2 separate regions of the Homo sapiens genome follow, and region 2 is linked to region 1. The links are contacts of gene promoters, found by promoter capture Hi-C in blood cells and fetal thymus (Javierre and others, 2016). All regions are on one chromosome and are shown on one strand. Each heading gives the region's core, a stretch centred on a gene start or on the middle of the fragment in contact. The rest is flanking DNA. Distances are from core to core; before and after follow the strand shown. Region 1 holds the start of WNT7A (Wnt family member 7A). Region 2 overlaps LINC00620 (long intergenic non-protein coding RNA 620).

Region 1 (3,386 bases), core at 543-3,042:
ACACACAAATCAGATCAGTCACCCCCTTCTTCATCCCTCCAATGTCCCCAGCTGAACACACCACTGAAATCCAAGCTCCTTGACGTGCCCACACAGCTTTGTGGATCTGTGTATCCCCATCTCCCTTCAAGCTCAGGCCTTCTCTCTCTCTCTATTGCAGCCCACCATCTCCTCCCTGGGGCTCATGCCCACCTCTGAGCTTTTGCACCTGCTGGTCCCCTTCCTGCAGTGCTGGACCCCTGATGCTGTGTCCTTCAGGCCTCACCTCAAATGCCACCTCCTCAGATCTAAAATTAACCCTCCAACACCCAGTATTCCCTCTCCCATCACCCTGCTTAATGGTCTACTATCTGCAACTCTGTTCTTGTTCACTTATCATCTGTCTCCTTCCTGGCCCCAAGAAGAAAGACTGTTGCCTTTCTTCTTCCTTGTGTCCACGGTGCCCACTATCGTGGTTGGCACAGAATATGGAATATGAATGAATACCTGAATGGTGGCTTTCGGGTGTGTGTGTGTGTGTGTGTGTGTGTAATTTAGAAAGGCAATCTTGAAGGATAGTCAGGACTGGGTGCAGGAGGTTACTACAGTTGGGCATACTTTGTTTCCCATATGGTTGTGCCACTCGCTAGCTGGTGACTCTGGGCAAACACCTTCACCTCCTTGAGCCTCAGTGTCTTCAGCTGAAACCTGAGTTCAGATTTGCCAGACCTGGGCATAGGGACAGCAGGTCCAGCAGGAACACCAAGCCAGGACCACAGCCACTCCCAGGGAGCTCAGTCCCTGGAGCCCGAGAGGAACACTCTCCGGAGGCGCAGGCGCAGCCGCTCCTAGAGACTGGGCAACCCCCAGGTGGCAGGCGGGACCGGTCCGTGCAAACAGGGAACAGGTACCCGGAGGATGGACATTCGCTGGCAAAAACATAAACTGCCGCTCGGAGTCTTGGCACCACCCAATTTCCAGGGACGGTTAGACTCCCCCTAGCTCACTGGATGAGGTGTACACCAAAGAAGGGTGTTAGCCCCCTCGGGTCGGCCAGGGCACTCAAAGCATTCTGTTCCCGGGAGCGAGGCCGAGGTGCACCACCCGCCGCGTCCGCCTGGTGACGCCGCGAGCGCGCTCTGAGCGGCCAGCTGCGCCCCTCACGCTCCCGCGGCTCAGGCGCCCCACTGCTGTTCCGCGCGGGGCAACTGGGCCTCAGCCCGACTCAGTCTGTCGGCTAACAGCAGGATCCCAGAGGAGGCTGCCCAACCTGGGCACCCCCTGCCGCCACTCTCGAATAGGTGGGAGTAGGGAAGAAATACACTGAGCCAGTCAGCCCGTCGCTCCGCGAAAGGGGGCGCCCTCCCCTGAAGCTGGGGTTGGGGAACTGGGGTGTGCCCTGTCAGCCCCAGCTCCCTGTTCCGGGCTGGAGGGAGCAGGGCAGCAGACCAAGGCACTAGGCCTCTCGGCCGAGTCTGGTCCACTCCACCCGAGGGCAGCCTCTGGACGCCCACTCGCCCTGCAATCTGCAAGTTAGTGACGGGTGGGGGGCGAGCGGGCTCCTACCGCCTCCAACCGGGCTGTGCTCCCCAGCCTGCCACCTGCACCCCGGAGCAGGGAGGGGGCCCCCGGGAGCGCGCATGGAAAGGCGCGAGCGCGCGCCTTGTGCAGGCGGCCCTGTCCCGCGGGCGCAGGGGCGCTGGGCGGGCGCTCCGGGGAGGCGGGCGGGGGAGGGGGCGGGGGAGGGACGGGGGAAAGGAGGGAGGGGCGGGGGCTGGAGGCAGCAGCGCCCCCGCACTCCCCGCGTCTCGCACACTTGCACCGGTCGCTCGCGCGCAGCCCGGCGTCGCCCCACGCCGCGCTCGCTCCTCCCTCCCTCCTCCCGCTCCGTGGCTCCCGTGCTCCTGGCGAGGCTCAGGCGCGGAGCGCGCGGACGGGCGCACCGACAGACGGCCCCGGGGACGCCTCGGCTCGCGCCTCCCGGGCGGGCTATGTTGATTGCCCCGCCGGGGCCGGCCCGCGGGATCAGCACAGCCCGGCCCGCGGCCCCGGCGGCCAATCGGGACTATGAACCGGAAAGCGCGGCGCTGCCTGGGCCACCTCTTTCTCAGCCTGGGCATGGTCTACCTCCGGATCGGGTAAGGGCTGCCTGCGCCCTTTCCGCGCGTGTTTCGACAAAGTTGGCACGGCCCGGGGAGGGAGGTGTGCCGCCTGCGAGCCTCTGCCGGCCAACTTCCACAGCTTCTCTGAGAGGCCGGGTGGGTGCGGTGTGGGAGCGGTGGACGCACAAAGGCCCCCCGCAGGACACCCCAGGAGATATAGGCAGGGGGACTGGCCATCCTGAGGACGTCTGAGTCTGGAATCCCCCAGGACCAGAGACAGCCGGTAGGGACGCTCCAGCCTGAGGGACTCTGGGGGAGGGCTAGCTGCTGCAAAGGTTCAGCCCATCCCGGGGACCCTTCGGACCCGGGCATAGGGACAGCAGGTCTAGCAGGAACATCAAGCCAGGACCACAGCCAATCTCGGGGAGCTCAGTCCCCGGAGCCCGAGACGAACTCTCTCAGGAGGCGCGGCACAGCCGTTCCTAGAGACTGGGCAGTCCCCAGGTGGCTGGCGGGGCCGGTCCGTGCAAACAGGGAACAGGTACCCAGGAGGAAGGACATTCGCTGGCAAAAACATAAACCGCCGCTCGGAGCCTTGGCACCACCCAATTTCCAGGGGCCCTTAGACTCCCAGAGCCCCTTCCCGGGCCAAGGGGACAGCACGTCCCACCCCCAACAAACACACACAAAGGTGGGACGAGAGGCGGTCTGAGACACAGAGGGAGACAAGCGCTAGAGAGAGGCGGGACACCCCGCCCCCTGGAACTGGGCAGCAGAGGCGGCCGGGCGCGCGAGCAGCCCTCCGGCTTCACCTAGCGTTTCTGTGGAGGTGGGGCTCGGGGGCGCTCTGGCTGGAAGGTGGGAGGGGGCAGCTCGGGACGCGTCCTGGAGCTGCTTGTGCAAAGCCGGTCACCCTTTGTACTTAAGACAACGCGTGTGAGGCTCGGAGCGGTGTGGGGGCGGGGGGATCTGGGCATGGATAGAGGTTCTGGCGCTGAAGGGCCCGCTTGGTAGGTCTCACACACCCTGCCCCTCCAGCCCCCAGCAGTGAACCCATTACCATCCCTTTTGAGGAGGGGTGGACCGCAGGGGCTGCGGCGAGGGGATGTGCGTGGCAGACCCTTTGTGTTTTGTCACTACTACCCCCCTACCCCGTCACTTCCCCAGTCCACGTCTCTGGAGCGGGGATTTCGCAAGTTGTCCGGCCGCGGCCGCTAGCAGGTGCGTGCAGAGCCGACCAGGGGCCGCCAGCCCGACCAGCGGCGGAGAGGCGGCTGCGGGGCTCGCGCCAGTACCGCCAGCCTG
Region 2 (3,386 bases), core at 276-2,775, 200 kb after region 1:
CCCTGCTCCCTCTACACCCTCACCTGCTCAGCTGCAAGTCAGCCAGGGCCCCGAGACAGATGCCTGGGCGCTGTCCTGACCAGCCACTCTCTGGCCCCACATCCAACCCACCGCCAAATCCCTAGGTTCTTCTCCATCTCTCAGGGACCCATCCCCAGCTTTTGGTCTCCACCGCAACCATCGGGCCAAGCCACCACCACCTCCTGCCCGGACCACACAGCGGCTCCATGACACATTCCTGTAGACACGTGCATGTGGCAGTCCACCGATGTGTACATGTGCACACCCAGGCGCGTGCACACACACACGCACACGCACACGCACATACACATGCATGCACACACATGCACACTCACACACACATGCGTGCACACACGTGCGCATGCACACACACATACATGCACATACACACACAGACACGGGCCTGAAAGAGGAATTAAGAAATGCCACAAAGCTCAGAGCAGGGAAAGATATTTTCCGCGTAGAGTCCCTGGAAGAGGAAGAGAACCCCTGGCTAGAGCATCCGTCTCGCAGCCCTCTTCTCTGTTCCTGTCTTCCTCTCTCCTGGCTCCTCAGGCCCAGGAGGAGTACCCTTGTGGCCACCAGCCCTGAGTCCTGACGTCCTGCACAATGGGCTCTAGACACTGTGCCCTTTTCTCTGGAAATAGTCCCCTGATTGAATATCTCCCCTCCCCACCCCAGCCCATGCCCTTCCAGTTCAAGTGGGCCTCTGTTTCCCACTGTGGTCCTGCACCCGCTCCCAGGCCTTCTGCGAGTCACTCACACACTCCCCTTCCTAGGAGGGCTCCTCTCTGGCCTCGCCTGGGTCAGTTTCCATATCCCCACTAAGCCACCACAGGCCAGGAGTTGGGGGTACTATCTGGCCACAGTCTCCACAAGGCCTGGGGTCAGGGGAGGAGCCAGCAGCCCAGAAACACACAGCCCACTGTGGCAGGAGTGGACCCCACGCAGCCAAGTTCCCCCAGCCTCCCTCCTGAGCTCAGCCTGGGTGTGCTGGGTCTGGGGTGTTCATGGCACATCCCAAAGAAGATGCAAGGAAGCCACTGGATACAGAAGCCTGGGGTTCAGGACAGAGGTCTGTGCTCCAAGGGTCTCCAGGGTGTGGAAGATTCTATAAATAGTTCCTTGACGTAACTTCCCAAATCTGTGTACCTCTGTTACTGCCACCTGCTCCCAGCAAGTGGAAGCTTTGTGCAGGCAAAGGCAGAGAGTCACTTGCCACCTTTGGACATAAAGCAGCAGGCTGCAGTGCCACGCACAGTAGGTGCTCAGTAAAGAGATCGTCACTTGAAGCACAGAAACACAATGTCTGAGCCCAAGGGTCTTTAGAGATCAAAGACTCCCAGAGGAAGCTGAAAACTCAGAGGTCCACAGGGGCCCAACAGTTGCCATAAATGAAGGGAATGGGCTAGTGTGGGTCATGGGGAGCTGGAGAGCCCGTGTTCTGGAAGCAGGGACTCCACTGCCAAGAGCCGTTGACCATGGACCTGCAGGGTTGTGGGCCCCAGGTGCACAATGGACTCACATCAATGGCTTCTCCCCTCATCTAAGGCTCTCTTTCTATTGAAAACAAATTGGGGTCTCCACGAAACTTAGTGGCCCAGCTATGCACAGCACTAGGACAGAAGTCTAGCCCAGGTCCCCAAGGAGTATGGGAGTGGCCGGGCTGGTGAAGGCAGCAGGTGGTGTTGGTGCCAAGCCCAGATCCCCCTTGTCAGGAGGTACACCCATCCCTCAGCCATTGCCAAGGTCTCCACCATTGACTCACAGCCACGCTTAACTGGAGAAGCACCAAAAGCACTGGAAATACCACGAAGCTTTATGTATCATCCCACTCGCACCCCCAGGGCTGCCTGCAGCTGTTACAATATCCTGTAGGACTGGACTTCAGCTCCGCGGTGCCATTTACCCCCCAGCACCCCTCGTGAGGTCAGGCTGAGTCTAGACTTCTCCTGCACCCTCATGCTTGCTTGGTGTCATCCTCCGCCTCACCTGCTTCTCTCCATCAGTAACCACAGGCACCCAACCCCTGTCTCAGGCTCTGCTCCTAGGGAAGCAACCTGAGCAGCGAGGGTGGCAGCGGGAAGACTGGGTGGACAGAGCGAAGACCTGAGTACACCTGAAAGTGAGAGGAGGGAGACAGATGCAGTGTGTAGAGAAGGAAGCTGCTGGGGAGAGGGGGCCCCTTGCAGCCAAGACCTGCAATCTCCAGGGAAAGTGTCCAAAGACACAAAGTTGATTGACAGTCATTGTCAACGTGGAGGAAAACCAGGGAACTGTCGTTATCACCATCTTCCCTAAGGAATTCCATAGCCAGCCAGTCAAAAAAATTCACTGAGGGCCTGCTGGGTGCTGCAGCTGTGGGGGGCGCATACAGGTGGGTGAAGCCACAGCCTCTTCAGCCTCATGGAGGTGCCCGCCTGCTTCTATCCTTCCTTCCATCCACCTGTCCTTTCTCTCCAGATCGTCTTTCAGCCCTTACATTCTTCCACACTCTGTTTACAATAGACTTCATGTGTGCTGCACAGCTAAAGTTTCTTGAAACCCTAAGAGAGGAATCGAAGGAAAGAAGCTCTGGAAAAGCCCCAGAGAGGGAGGTACTGAATCAGAATGCAAATCCCAGAGGGCTTCAGAGAGGAGGAGACCCCCCGAGTTGCCCTGAGGGAGGAGCATATGAAGAGTAAAGGGGGATTTGATCTAGGTAAGGGAAAGGCTGTGATTTTTAGCTGGCAGCATCCAATCTCTCTCTTCAAGCCCCCAGATGTCTCTCAGAATCTCCCCTTTGCCATTCTAGGGGTCCTCTTGGCAGAAAGAGGTACTCCCCTCCCACCATGGAAGTCCAAGGCTCCAGCTCCCTGCTTTCTGCCCTATGGCAGCTCCATGCAGGCATGGATATGGGCTGAGCTGGCCAGATGTCCAGCCCAGGACTCTAGGTCTTGAGAGAGCCACCCACAGGCTTTAGAAGACTGAGGAAGGCTGGAGGAAGGCCACATGTCCCTGCCAGCTCCCCAGAGAGCGCTTCAGACTGGTCCCTTTTTTGTAAACATAATGCCAGATTCAGTGATGATTGAGCCCCTCACTTTTCTGTCCCTTTGCTCTCTGTAGACATATATCTGTGAATTATACACAGTATTATTTTGACTGATTTTGCATTTTATACAGAGGTATCAATTGCACCTTGCTTAGTCAGGCTCAGTGTTGTATTTTTTGAGATTTATCTATGCTGACCTTGGTAGCTCAAGTTCATTCATTTTAATAGCTGTATGGTTATTCCAAAGTATGACTACCACAGAACTGCCCAGATGAGCCACAGATTCAAGCATAATAACAAAAGTGGTTGTTTTTGTTTGTTTGTTTGTTTGTTT

What was found. Contacts are between HindIII fragments. The CHiCAGO score rates a contact against its expected background, and 5 or more counts as called.
Region 2: a fragment that was not itself captured here is called in contact with the fragment with the promoter of WNT7A in region 1 in 2 of 17 cell types (megakaryocytes and endothelial precursors); the score reaches 5.8 in megakaryocytes.

The regions. Positions count from the first base shown.
Region 1 is chr3:13,878,477-13,881,862 of GRCh38, reverse strand. It overlaps WNT7A (Wnt family member 7A), which reads left to right and starts at 1,792. Exons shown (of 4, transcript NM_004625.4): 1 at 1,792-2,117. The coding sequence starts at 2,047. RefSeq lists enhancers at 1,814-2,315, 2,818-3,319. The HindIII fragment of the contact is 8,507 bases long and covers 1-3,386 here.
Region 2 is chr3:13,679,060-13,682,445 of GRCh38, reverse strand. All of the region lies in intron 1 of LINC00620 (long intergenic non-protein coding RNA 620), which reads right to left. Among named protein-coding and RNA genes, the nearest start is that of LINC00620, 30 kb to the right of the region's middle. RefSeq lists an enhancer at 329-874. The HindIII fragment of the contact is 630 bases long and covers 1,211-1,840 here.